2 separate regions of the Homo sapiens genome follow, and region 2 is linked to region 1. The links are contacts of gene promoters, found by promoter capture Hi-C in human tissues and cell types (Jung and others, 2019). All regions are on one chromosome and are shown on one strand. Each heading gives the region's core, a stretch centred on a gene start or on the middle of the fragment in contact. The rest is flanking DNA. Distances are from core to core; before and after follow the strand shown.

Region 1 (6,536 bases), core at 1,911-4,410:
ATATATTTTTCTTTTTCTTTTGAGACAGATTCTCACTCTGTTGCCCAGACTGGAGTGCAGTGGTGCAATCTCAGCTCACTGCAACCTCCACCTCCTGGGTTCAAGTGATTCTCATGCTTCAGCCACCCAAGTAGCTGGGACTACAGGCGTGCCACCACGCCTGTACTTTTAGTAGAGATGGGGTTTCACCATGTTGGCCAGGCTGGTCCCATACTCCTGACCTCAGGTGATCCACCAGCCTCGGCCTCCCAAGTAGCTGGAATTACAGGCATGAGCCATCATGCCCAGCCCTAATATTTTTTTCTTTCGAACCCCATAAATATCTTTTAAAAAACACCTTTCTTAAAAATACTTTTAAAAGCTACTTAAAGATACCATTTCCCTGCTTCCAGGAGAAATATACATGCACTATAAAAATAAGAAAATATAGATGTCACAGAAGAAAAGTCTCATTTTAAAATCTACGCATTATACTTATTTATGTATATTTATATATTACCATCTGCTATATCACCTTATAATGTGCTTTTAATTATAAAGATTTCCCACATCATTAAATCTTTTTATTTACCATGATTTTTAATGGCCACAAACTCTAGTTTATTTAACAATCATATAACTATAATATAATAATATAATATTGGGCATTTTTCCTGCTTATAGGTAGGGTGCAATATTTTGAGGTAATATAAATGGACTAATATCTGGGATATGGTGACAAATCTTCCAAAGAGCACAATATTTTTTGCAAACAAGAAATTAGGGCCTGAGATAATTAGGAGAAATGTAAGTTCCCAATGAAACTCTGGAGATATTGGCAGGTATGCTGGGTTTCTTAAGTGGTACACAGGTTTGGAGTCAATTGTACTTAAATTTTAAAGGACAGTGACCCCAGCTGCCCTAAGGATGATTGTAGAGGGTAATCCAGGCAGCTGATCCATGGAAGCATGCATGCCTCCCTACCTCAAAATATTTCAATCTTTATGCACTCTTTAAATCTTGTAGGAAGAGGCGGACTTCTCTGACTTTTTGCTCACCCCTTTCCCCCTTCCCATCTACTTTTCCTTTTCTGGTTTCTTGCACCATCAATTATCCTACATCTATCTGCCATTCTCCCCTCTCAGCTCCTTTAGTTAAGGTCTCCCCACTCAAGTTAGGAAAAAAAAAAAAAAAATCACCGGCCAGGCATGGTGGCTCATGCCTGTAATTCCAACACTTTGGGAGGCTAAGGCAGGTGGATCACCTTAGGTCAGGAGTTCGAGACCAGCCTGGCCAACATGGCGAACCCCCATCTCTACTAAAAATACAAAAATTAGGGCCGGGTGCGGTGGCTCATGCATGTAATCCCAGCACTTTCGGAGGCCGAGGCGGGTGGATGACCTGAGTTCAGGAGTTTGAGACCAGCCTGACCAACATGTTGAAACCCCATTTCCACTAAAAATACAAAATTAGTCAGGCATGGTGGCGCATGCCTGTAATCCCAGCTACTCGGGAGGCTGAGGCAGGAGAATCGGTTGAACCCAGGAGGCAGAGGTTGCAGTGAGCCGAGATTGTGCCATTGCACTGCAGCCTGGGCAACAAGAGCGAAACTCTCTCTCAAAAAAAAAAAAAAAAAAAAAAAAAAAAAAAGCCAGGCATGGTGGCGTGCGCCTGTAATTCCAGCTACTTTGAAGGCTGAGGCTGGATTATCACTGGAACTCTGGAGGTAGAGGTTGCAGTGAGCCGAGACCACGCAATTGCACTACAGCCTGGGCTGCGAGACCGAAACTCCGTCTCCAAAGACAAAAAAAAAAAACAAAAAACAATCAACTTTTCCCTTTACTCTTTTGCAGAGAGGGAGGGTCTCGCTATGTTGCCCAGGCTGAACTCAAACTTCTCGGCTTAAGGGATGCTTTTGCCTCAGCTTCCACAGTAGGACCCAACTTTCTCCTTTACTCTTGGTACTTCTTGAGCTCCAGGCCTACTTTTCTCTCTCTCACTGCCAAACATTTGAAATCATCACCCTTTATTAACTCCATTGCTTCATTGGCTAACATACTCTTTAGACAAGCTCTTCAACTCAGTTCTGTGCCTGGTGCACAGCAGGCTCCGGCTGCATGTTAGTTCCAGCCATCTTGCACATTTGCATCTCCTTCCTGGAGAAGGAATTTCTCCATGGTTAGCAGTGTGTGCTCACTCCTAGTCACCAGGGCCTCATCTCCGTGTTCCCACACCCTGACCTTGCTGCCGCCCTAATGCTGCGGACCCAGTTTCCAGGTACGCCGGGTTCTTGGAAGGTCCTGCCGGTCACCCTCCCAGCCTTCTGCCAGACTCACTGAGTTCTCACCCTGCACAGTCATCGTTTCCCCAGTAACCCTGAGAGATCTCCCAGTCTACCTCTTCGAGGCACCCGTTGCCAGTCCTCCATCTCTGTTTGCCGCGCGTCCCTCGGTTACCCCAGAGGCAACACGTCAGGCTGCCCCGCACCTCCAAGCCTGCGCGAATGTCCTTGTAGCCAGCTATGACCAAACATTTAGGGCGCACCTGAGCGCCAGGCCCACGCCACCCCTGCTTGCTTTCACTTAACAGCCTCGACTAGGCCCCCTATGCGCCAGGTCTCAGTGAAGAGGACGCAGTCCCGGGTCCTGGGCGCTCTTTGCCGGGCGAGACAGCTGCGTAGGCAGATCCTGTTCCTCTAGTGGGCGGCCTCGGCCCCTGCCCCTGCCCCGAGGCGCGTCAGAGGACAAGAGGCCCAGGTCGCTGGCAGCGGCTGCCTGCCCGACCGCACAGGGTGCCTAGCACGGGTGGCGGGGACTGGAGCCGGGCGGGGGCCGGCCGGGGTCGGGGGTCCAGCCCTGAGCGGCGCCGTCCCCGCCCCGCCCCGTCCCGTCGCGTCCCGCCCCGCCCTACCCGCCGCCGCCGTCGTCGCCGTCGCCGGGCCTGCGCCGCGCAGCCCGCCTCGGGCGGGAGGCGGGAGGCGGGAGGCCGGGCCCAGGCCGGGGCAGCCCCTCCACCGCACCGTCCTGGGCCGGTGCCCAGGTCCGAGTCGCCTTCCGCCTGCCCCCCCCCCCCCCCAATCCCCCGCCGCGGCAGCCCCAGCCAGGTCCCGCCGCCAGGCCGGCTCCCGCCCCCGCTCCGCCCCCGGAGCCGCAGCCCCGCCCGCCATCGCCGTCGCCATGTTGTGGCTCCCGCAGCCGGCGCTGGGGACGCGCGCGGCCGAGACTCTGGCCTGCAGTCGCCGCCGCCGCCGCCAGGTAAGCGCCCCCCGCGGGCCGGGCCGAGCGGGGCCTGCGGGCCGGGGCAGCCCCAGCCTGGGCCCGGGAGGATCGCAGCCGGGACCGAGTCCGAGCCCGAGCCGGGGCCCGGCCCTGCAGCCTGGCGGACCCTGGCCGCCGCCAGAGGCGGCAGCCACTTCCCCCGACCGCCGCCTGGCGGGCCCGGGCCGCCACCCCACCCCGCCCCCGGCCGTCGGGCGCCGGCCCCTTCCGCCGCTGCGACCGCCGCTGCGACCGCCGCTCCTTGGCAGGCCGGGCACGCTGCTGTCCTCCGCGCTGGGCGGGACGTGCGGCCGCCCTCGGCGATAGCCGGCGGCCCCCAGCCCGGGCACGGATAACGGTGCCACTTTCTCCCTCTGGGACGGCCTGTCAGCCCGACCGTCCCCGCCGCCCGAAGAGCTGTCGCCGTCACAGGGCAGACACTTCGGGGAACGACCCTCTTTGGCGCTCCTCAGTACTCCCCTCCCCTGAGCCCAAGTTCTGACCCTGAGGAAGGTTTCTCCCGGAGCAGACAGGTATTCCTAGAGCTCCAGAGTTGGGGTCCTCAGGGGTGACCAGGCCTGTTGATCAGGGTGAAAATTGTCTCTCTGCAAGGGCTCTTCCTGCCAACGAGGGGGTTGGCGGGAGGCTCAGTGTGACCTGAGGGAGGACAGGAGAGCGTCTGCTGGACAGATGGCCTCCTGGCCTTGGATCAGCGTTTGTGAGGGGGAGGGGTCCGTATGACCTTAGGTATGCCTGCTCCTGAGTACTGCAGGATTATTGAAGCTGTTTAGGGATTTTAAACCATTTTTTGAGTAGGCCAAAGGTGGCATTAAAGGTCCTGGATTGGAATAAGTCCACAGGCCCACCCAGGGAAGCATGTTTGGCATCCAGGACTAGTCTAGAATAGGACTGGCAGTAGAAGAATGGGACTTGGGGAGTAAGACGGTATTTGGCTTATGGTTTGCCCACTTGAGTTCAGGCCTGTGCTCATGGAGGGCCTGTAGGGTGCTTCTGTCGCGGGTGCAGTGTGGTGCACAGTGTGGCAGAGTGCGGAGGATGTGGACAGACAGATTCCTGGCCTGGTGGATGCTTGGTGGTATTTTAGTAGTCTGTTTCCTCAACCTCACTGTTACGTTACACAGTGAAAGGGGCAGAAGTGTGGTGCTAGTGCGTCCATTTTGATCATTTTCCAATTTTTCAACTAGTTGTGGCTTTGATTCATTAAATAAATTTTTACTGAGCACTTACTCTGTGCCAGGCACTGAGCTAGGTGTTGGGAGTACATTGGTAAGCCAGAAAGATACCATGTTTTAGTTCTTAGCCATTGGGAAAGTCTAATAATTAATAGTCGTGGCCGGGCGCGGTGGCTCGCGCCTGTAATCCCAGCACTTTGGGAGGCCGAGGCGGGTGGATCGCCTGAGATCAGGAGTTCGAGACCAGCCTGACCAACATGGTGAAACCCCGTCTCCACTAAAAAAATACAAAATTAGCCGGGTGTGGTGGTGCATGCCTGTAATCCCAGCTACTTGGGAGGCTGAGGCACGATAATTGCTTGAACCCGGGAGGCGGAGGTTGCAGTGACCTGAGATCGTGCCGTTGCACTCTAGCTTGGGCTACAGAGTGAGACTCCATCTCAAAATAAATAAATAGTCGTGGAAATTTATTCAACAACAAATATTTGTCAACAAATACGTGTTAGGCATTGTTCTAGATGCAGTGAACAAAGAAAGCAAAAATGATTGCCCTTGTGGTGCTTTCCTGGGAGTGGGGGAGAAGACAATAAATAAAATATATAACAAAAATATAGTCTGTTAAAAAGTGTGAAATGCTAAGGAGAAGAAGGAAGCAGGGAAGGAGAATCTGAGGTATCAGGGGTGGTAGTTGAATTTATATTATACGGTGGCCTGGGAAGGCTTCCTAAGAAGGTGTCTTTCGAGTAAAACTTGGAAGTGGTAAACTAATAATTCAAACTATAGTGAATATAAGAAGAGAAAGCTGAAGAGAGGGGTAAGAGACCGATTTGAGTTGGGGGCTCAGGGAAGCCTTCCCTGGGGAAGTGATGTTTAGGCCAAGATCTGAAGGAGGGTTAAGAGTTAACCATGTGTGGAGCTGACTGTAGCAAGGAGGAAGTGAAAGAGGCCTGTGGGGCTGGAGGGGGAAAGGGAGAGGGGAGATTAGTCTGGAGACTAGGGCCAAATTAGAGCAATGGGGCCTTGGGGGCAGAATGCCTCCCTCCTTAGTTTGGTTTGTATCTCCAGTGTAATTAGGAACCTTTGAAGGGTTTAAGGGAATGACATGATATTTACATTTTAAAAGGTGTCTAGCCCCTGTGCAGGGAATGGACTTTTGAGATAAGCAGGTAAGGCAAGGCTTTCTGGGTTGAGTGGCTTAACTACCTGATCTGTTTGGAAAAGCCTCAAGCAGTCTGGGGGAGATCCTTTGCCTCTGTGAGTCTGCTTCATCCAGCTTTTAGGAAGGGAAGGCAAAAATGAATTAACATTTATGGAGTACCTGCCAGGTGGGAGAACCAATTTTAAAGACTTCTGCATACATTATTGTATTTAACTTAGTCCTCTCTACACCCTAAGAAAAAGAGGTTATCATACCCATTTTACAAAGAAATAAATGCAGAGGGGATAGATGACTTATTCAAAGCCACATTTGTAACATAGCCTGGATTCAAAGCACGTCTGCCTGAATTCAGAGCCCACTGGCTCTGGAGCCAGACCACTGAAGTTTGCATTTTGCTCCTGTCACTTGCTAACCAATGATCTTGAGTTATTTAGCCTCTCTTGTGCCTCAGTTTGCTCACATTTTAAGTGCAGATAAAACTCCCTCATACAGTTGTTGTACAGATTAAGTCATGTAAACAGTTGAGCACTGGGTTCAAATATTAGTTGCTTTTATTATTTTAAAAATTTTTATTACTTTTTTTTTTTTTTTAAACTGGAGACAAGCTGGATGCGGTGGCTCATGTCTGTAATCCCAGCACTGTGGGACACTGAGGCGGGTGGATCACCTAAGGTCAGGAGTTCGAGGCCATCCTGGCCAACATGGCGAAACCCTGTCTCTACTAAAAATATAAAAATTAGCTGGGCATGGTGGCACGCGCCTGTAGTCCCAGCTTCTCAGGAGGCTGAGGCAGGAGAATTGCTTTAACCTGGGAGGTGAAGGTTGCAGTGAGCTAAGATTGAGCCACTGCACTCTAGCCTGGGTGACAGAGCGAGACTCCATCTCAAAAAACAAACAAACGAAAACAACAACAACAAAAAAAACTAGAGACAGTGTCTCACTATGCTG
Region 2 (6,536 bases), core at 2,347-4,846, 270 kb after region 1:
GAGAATTTTGGAGAACCTGATCCACTGTTAACTCTAATAATCGTTTCCTGAAGAACAGCCCCATCCACAGTTAAACAGAAATCTGGGGATATTAAATGGAGCTTTGTACTCTTGTCACTTTTTTCTTTCTTCATCAATTTCTAGTTGCTTAGAATTAAGGGCTACACTAAATGACCCTGCATTTGTTGGTGAGAACAGGGGAAGCAGAGAGATGTTTTGTAAGGGATGGAAGGTAGTATTTACATACAAAATTCACAGATTTGGACCTTAGCAACTTTGATCCTGATGGGCTTGATAGAGAAATTACAAGGTTAAAAGGGCTTTGAGATGTGGTGGAAAGAACAGAGACTTCCTATACCCTGCCTCTACCACTGTGCACTTTTAACAAGTTATTATCTTCTCTGAGCATCACTTTTCTTATCTGCAAAATGGGAATAATGAATTCTATCTTTTAGAGTTTTTGAGATTAACTGAGATAATGTGATAAATGATACTTTTCTTAAGGCAGTGAGGTAGAAAAGCAACAAATTTTTATTAGCTCTTTCTTCCTCTCCTTCAATTTAATCTATTATATGTGTTTGCCAGAATAAAGGAATTGTGTTTAAAGGATTGTCTGTAATTACTCAACTTAGTATTTTGAAATATTTTATTGTGGAGAATTTATAACATGTACAAAAGTAGAATTATGTTGTATTTGTTGCATAACAAATTACCCCAAAGTTTACTGGCTTAAAACAGTAATAAGCATTTATTTCTCACTGTTTCTTTGGTTCAGGAATTTGAGAGAAGCGGGGCTCAATAGTTCTGGCTCATAGTCTCTCTTGAGGTTGCAGTCAGGTGTTGGCTGGGTCTTTGGTCATCCAAAACCTTTAGTGGGCCAGCGGATTCACTTCCAAGGTGCTTCACTCATATGATTGGCCAAGTTAGTGCAGGATGTTTTGGGGTTTGAGGAAAGGCCCAATTCCTCTCCATGTGTGTCAGCTTCACAGGGCTGCTCAGGTACCCGCTGGCTTCCCGCAGAGAAGTGATCCAGGAAGTCAAAGCAGAAGCTACAATGCCCTGTTTGACCTAGCCTAGACTACATATTGTCAGTTCCACTGTATTTTATGCATTACATATACCAGCCTTGATTCAGGGTGGAGATGATACACGATCTTGTGATGATAATCACATCTTTCTTTCTTCCTTTCTTTTTCTTTTTCTTTTTCTTTTTTTTTAAAGTCAGGGTCTTGCTCTGTCCCCCAGGCTACCAGGCTGGAGTGCAGTGGCATGATAATAGCTTAATGCAGCCTCGAACTCCTGGGCTAAAGCTATTCTCCTGCTTCAGCCTCCCGAGGAGTTGGAAGTACAGGTGCGGGCCACTAGTCCTGGCCACAGTCATCACATATTTCATTCATTAGTGGTGATATGGCGGCAAATGGTGATATTCTAATTCTCTCATTACTTTTTCATTTAATACTGAATACCTCTATAAAGAGAAGCTCCTCTCATTAACTATGTGATAAAGTTTGAATAGCATAGGCAGGATAAATGCTTGTTTCTTGTTCTCCATTTATTATACCAGTTTTCAGAATAATGGTTTGACTTCCTAATATCCTCCAAAGGGGACCTGTTAAATGTTATTTGTATTACTATGAAGTTAAGTATTTTAATGTATTTGATATGTTTCAGTCAATTGCTCTTATTACCTATATTGATGTTCATATATTTATACCCCTTTTAGAGAAATGGTGGCATACTGTACATAGTACTCTTGATTTGCTTTTCTCGCTTCACAGCATATCCTTGGGATCACTCCATAGTTGTCTATGGAGGAATTGTTCATTCTTAAAAAAATTGAAATATAATTCATATACTCGCCCTTATAAAGTAGACAATTCATTGGTTTTTTAGTATAATCAAAGTTGTGCAACCATTACCACTAATCCTAGAATGTTTTCATCAAAGAAACCCTGTACCTAATAACAGTCCCTCCCCATTGCCTCCTGCCCCTTTACCCGCTACACCCCCAGCCTCTGGCAACCACTAATCTATTTTCTGTCTCTCTGAATTTACCAATGAACGTTTGATTTAAGTAAAATCATATAATTTCTGGCCTTTGTGTCTGGTTTCTTTCAGTTAGCATAATGTTTTCAAGGTTCATCCATGTTTTATTAATAGTTTGAATCAGTTCCTCCTTCCTTTTTTAGCAGCACAGTGCTCCACCGGCTTGATCTGTCTATACCTTAGCTAACCAGCTCATGTTGGTGAACATTTGAACATTTGAGTTGTTTCCCTACATTATTATATGACCTTGTGCATAAGTCTTTTTTTTTTTGGACAGGGTTGCCCAGGCTAGAGAGCAGTGGTGCAATCACAGCTCACCGGAGCCTCGACCTCCCGGGCTCAGGTGATCCTCCTGCCTCAGCCTCCTGAGTAGCTGGGACCACATCACGCCTGGCTAATTTTTGTAAAGATGGAGTCTCACTATGGTGCCCAGGCAGGTCTCAAAACTACTGGGCTCAAGCAACCCACCTGCCTCAGCCTCCCAAAGTGCTGAGAGTCATCTTTTTTGTTTTTTAATGTGAATTTTGCTAGGTGTTGTTCAATTTCCCTCTATAAGGGTTGTACCATTCTGAATTTTTACCAGCAGTGTATCAGAAAGTATTATTTCTCTACTGCCTTGCCATAGAATATTTTGTGATATCTCACTATGGTTTTTAGTTATCATTTTACTTCTCATATCGTGATTGAGATTGAGCATCTTTTCACATGTTTAAACTCTGCATTCCTTTTTTTGTTAACTATCTGTCCATATCACTCTAGACTCTCTCCAAAGGGTCGTTTGTATTTTCCTTCCATTTTTGGCATCTCTTTCTATATTGCAAATATTCTTTCCATTTCTTTATTTCTCCTTTTGTTTTAAGATGACTTGTCGGCTGGGCGTGGCGGCTCACACTTGTAATCCCAGCACTTTGGGAGGGTGAGGTGGGCAATCACTCGAGGCCAGGAATTGGAGACCAGCCTGGCCAACATGGCAAAACCTCGTCTCTATTAAAAATACAAAAATGTGCTGAGTGTGTTGGTGCACATCCGTAATCCCAGCTACTTGGGAGGCTGAGGCATAACAATCACTTGAACCCGGGAAGTGGAGGTTGCAGTGAGCTGAGGTCGCGCCACTCACTGTACTTCAGCCTGGGTGACCAAGCAAGACTTGGTCTCAAAATAAATAAATAAATAAAATTTAAAAAATGACTTGTCATTGCAAATTTAAATTTTTATGTAATTAATTCTAACAATATTTCCCCTAATATCTTCTGGAGTTTGAGTCATAATGGGAAAGCTTTCCATACTCCATGTTATAAAATATTTACCCATGTACTCAATGGTTTTATTTTTCACATTTAAATCTTCAATCCATTTGGAATTTATCTTGGTGTATGATATGAGGAATAAATTCAGTTTAATCTTTTTTTCCATATGGCTATGGAATTATTCCCAGCACCACTTATTTTGTTCATTCCCCCACACTAATTTGAGATAAATTCCATTCATAATTGAGTTCATTTCTGGATTCTCTGTACTGTTCCATTAGTCTCTCTTTAATTATGTGCCACTACCACACTGTTTTAATTATAGAGCTGTATAAGAATTATCTTGCAAGGCTATTCCTCTCTCTTTTCTTTCCCTTTTCAGGGTCTTCTGGCTGTTCTTGCTTGTTTGTTTTTACAGATGAACTTTATAATTAGCTTGTCTAGCTGTGGGAAGAAAACTCAAAGGTTTTTTCTTTTTATTGAGGTTGTATTATATTTACAAATTAGTATAGGGAGAACTGACATCATTGTGATGTTGTATCTTCTTATACAAGAACATGGTATGTCTTTTTACTTGTTTAAATCTCTTGTGGTTTTTTGGGAGTGTTTTTATGACTCTCCTCATAGAGTTCCTTATTGAGTTTATGCCAGATGTTCTATTATTTTTTGCTTTCATAAGTAGGATTTTCTCTTCCATTATGTTTCTAACTGAATTTCCCTTTTTTTTTTTTTTAATAAATGAAGCCTGGGCCGGGCGCGGTGGCTCACGCCTGTAATCCCAGCACTTTGGGAGGCCGAGGCGGGTGGATCATGAGGTCAGGAGATCGAGACCATCCTGGCTAACAAGGTGAAACCCCGTCTCTACTAAAAATACAAAAAATTAGCCGGGCGCGGTGGCGGGCGCCTGTAGTCCCAGCTACTCGGGAGGCTGAGGCAGGAGAATGGCGTGAACCCGGGAAGCAGAGCTTGCAGTGAGCCGAGATTGCGCCACTGCAGTCCGCAGTCCGGCCTGGGCGACAGAGCGAGACTCCAAAAAAAAAAAAAATAAATAAATGAAGCCTGTTGATTTTGATATGTTTCTTATATAGCCTGCTAAGTTCTCTGATTTGTAATACATAGCACATAAATTCTTTGGGGTTTTCCAGACATATCATTATATTATTTGTAAATAGAGTTTTACCTCTTTTCCAATTTTTAGACCACTAATTGCAGTCTCTTATTGCATTGGATAGTATCTTTAATACAGTGTTAAAATAATAAAGAAGATAATGTTTTATACAAAATAGTGTGTCTTGTTTCTAACTTTGTCAGGAAAGTTCTAGTTTTTCCCCATTAATATTTAGCAGACTTTTACACTTTTATTAAAGGAATAAGACCGGACACGGTGGCTCACGCCTGTAATCCCAACACTTTGGGAGGCTGAGGCGGGTGGATTACTTGAGGTCAGGAGTTCAAGACCAGCCTGGCCAACATGGTGAAACCCTGTCTCTACTAAAAATATAAATATTAGCCGGGTGTGGTGGTGGGCACCTGTAATCCCAGCTACTAGGGAGGCTGAGGCAGGGGAATTATTTGAACCTGGGAGACAGAGGTTGCAGTGAGCCGAGATCGCGCCATTGCACTCCAGCCTGAGCAACAGGAGCGAAACTCCGTCTCAAAAAAAAAAAAGCAATAGTGGGAGGAAATTATGTGGAGAAAGTTTTTGTGTTTTTTGCTTCTTTTCAAAGTATGGATGAGATATGCCCAGGATGGTGGTGGTAGATATTGTGATTATTTCTACTCTCAATTCTGTAGTTATAATATCCAGAATAAGTATGGTTTGATGAGCGTTTCAAAACAACCACTTTGGCTATCAAGTGAAAAGTAGATTGTAGAGCAACAGAAGTGGCAGTAGGCTAACTACAGGACTTTTGCAGCTCTTCAGAGAAGTAGTTTGGATTTCATGGTAGCAGTAGATGTAGAGGGATATAGGCAAACTTGGGATATATTTTGGAAGTAGAGTCTGTAGTGGTACTAATTAAAATAGTCATGTAGATAAACTGTTTCTTACTGTTTCAGGACAAGATGAGTCTATGCCAGATGTAAGTCACCACACTCATTTACTGATTTCTTCCTTGAGGATTTTTTGTTGTTAAAAAATTTTTGTGGTTGATCTGCATTCTGTCTTAAACTCTTTATTTCATTGTGGATTATTAACAGTTGGTCCACGGGCCACACTTTAAGCAACGTCAATCTCTAGTATCCATCTTAGGGGCAAACCATGATCTATTTAACCAGTCTCTTACTATTGGGTAGATGGTTAACCCTCACATCATCTTTTTTTTAGTATTAGGAATAAGTAACATTGCCATGAAATGCTTGTTTCTATAATTATGTGTATATATCTTATGCTTTCTTTAGGATAATTCCTGGAAATAGAGTAAGGATTTTGGAACATAATGACAAATTGTTCTCCATTTTACACACTTGCAGAGCCACATTTTTACCAGTATGAATTCTTTTTTCAAAAAAATCTTTGCTAATTTGGATGACAAATAGCAAGTTGTTATATGAATATGTACTTATTTGATTACTAGTAAGAATATTTTAAATGTATTTTTTGGAATTGATACATCCACCTTTGCCATTTTTAATGCTCTTGGATCATTTTTACTTTGGGGTGTAAGTACCATTTACATTAAGGTTATTTACTCTTTGTATAATGAAAATATTTTTCCTCTGTTTTAAAAATGGATTTTGGTATTTTTGCATCATGTAGAAATTGTCCTTTTTTATAGACTCTCCTAGCAGTATAGTTACTTGGGAGGTGTAGTTGGTCAAGCCTTGCTGCCTCCCTGCTTCCATCTCTAAAGAGGTTGCCCTTTGGTGGTAAGGGCAGTTCACTATTGTGAACTTGCTGGGGTAAAAGGTTTTGGTGTGAGGAACTTAGGAGTTAAAAACTCTTCTGTAAGGGAAATGTATATGAGTGATGGATGATATTAAGAGGTTATTTTTAAATTTTGTTAGGTGTGAAAATGGAATTGTGGTTGAGTAGAAAAATCTGCATACACACATAGATGTATTTAGGGGTGAAAAATGTGAGGGATTTTCTTGAAAATACTACAGTCAAAAAGATAGACATAGCAAATGTATCAACATTTAAAAAATTTTTGATTTGAGTGATGGGTTTATGAGTGTTCTTAACACTTTTAAAATTTTATTTTAAAGAAATGGGGTCTCGCTGTGTTGCCCAGGCTGGACTAG

What was found. Contacts are between HindIII fragments. The study calls those that stand out against the background at their distance.
Region 2: a contact is called between a fragment that was not itself captured here and the fragment with the promoter of ZNF592 in region 1, in 1 of the 25 tissues and cell types used here (spleen).

The regions. Positions count from the first base shown.
Region 1 is chr15:84,745,432-84,751,967 of GRCh38, forward strand. ZNF592 (zinc finger protein 592) reads left to right here and starts at 3,161. Exons shown (of 11, transcript NM_014630.3): 1 at 3,161-3,233. RefSeq lists enhancers at 2,313-2,612, 2,685-3,524, 4,053-4,132 and silencers at 2,683-3,102, 3,163-3,652. The HindIII fragment of the contact is 21,328 bases long and covers 1-6,536 here.
Region 2 is chr15:85,012,939-85,019,474 of GRCh38, forward strand. The region is part of intron 1 of PDE8A (phosphodiesterase 8A); the gene reads left to right. Among named protein-coding and RNA genes, the nearest start is that of PDE8A, 34 kb to the left of the region's middle. The HindIII fragment of the contact is 5,250 bases long and covers 972-6,221 here.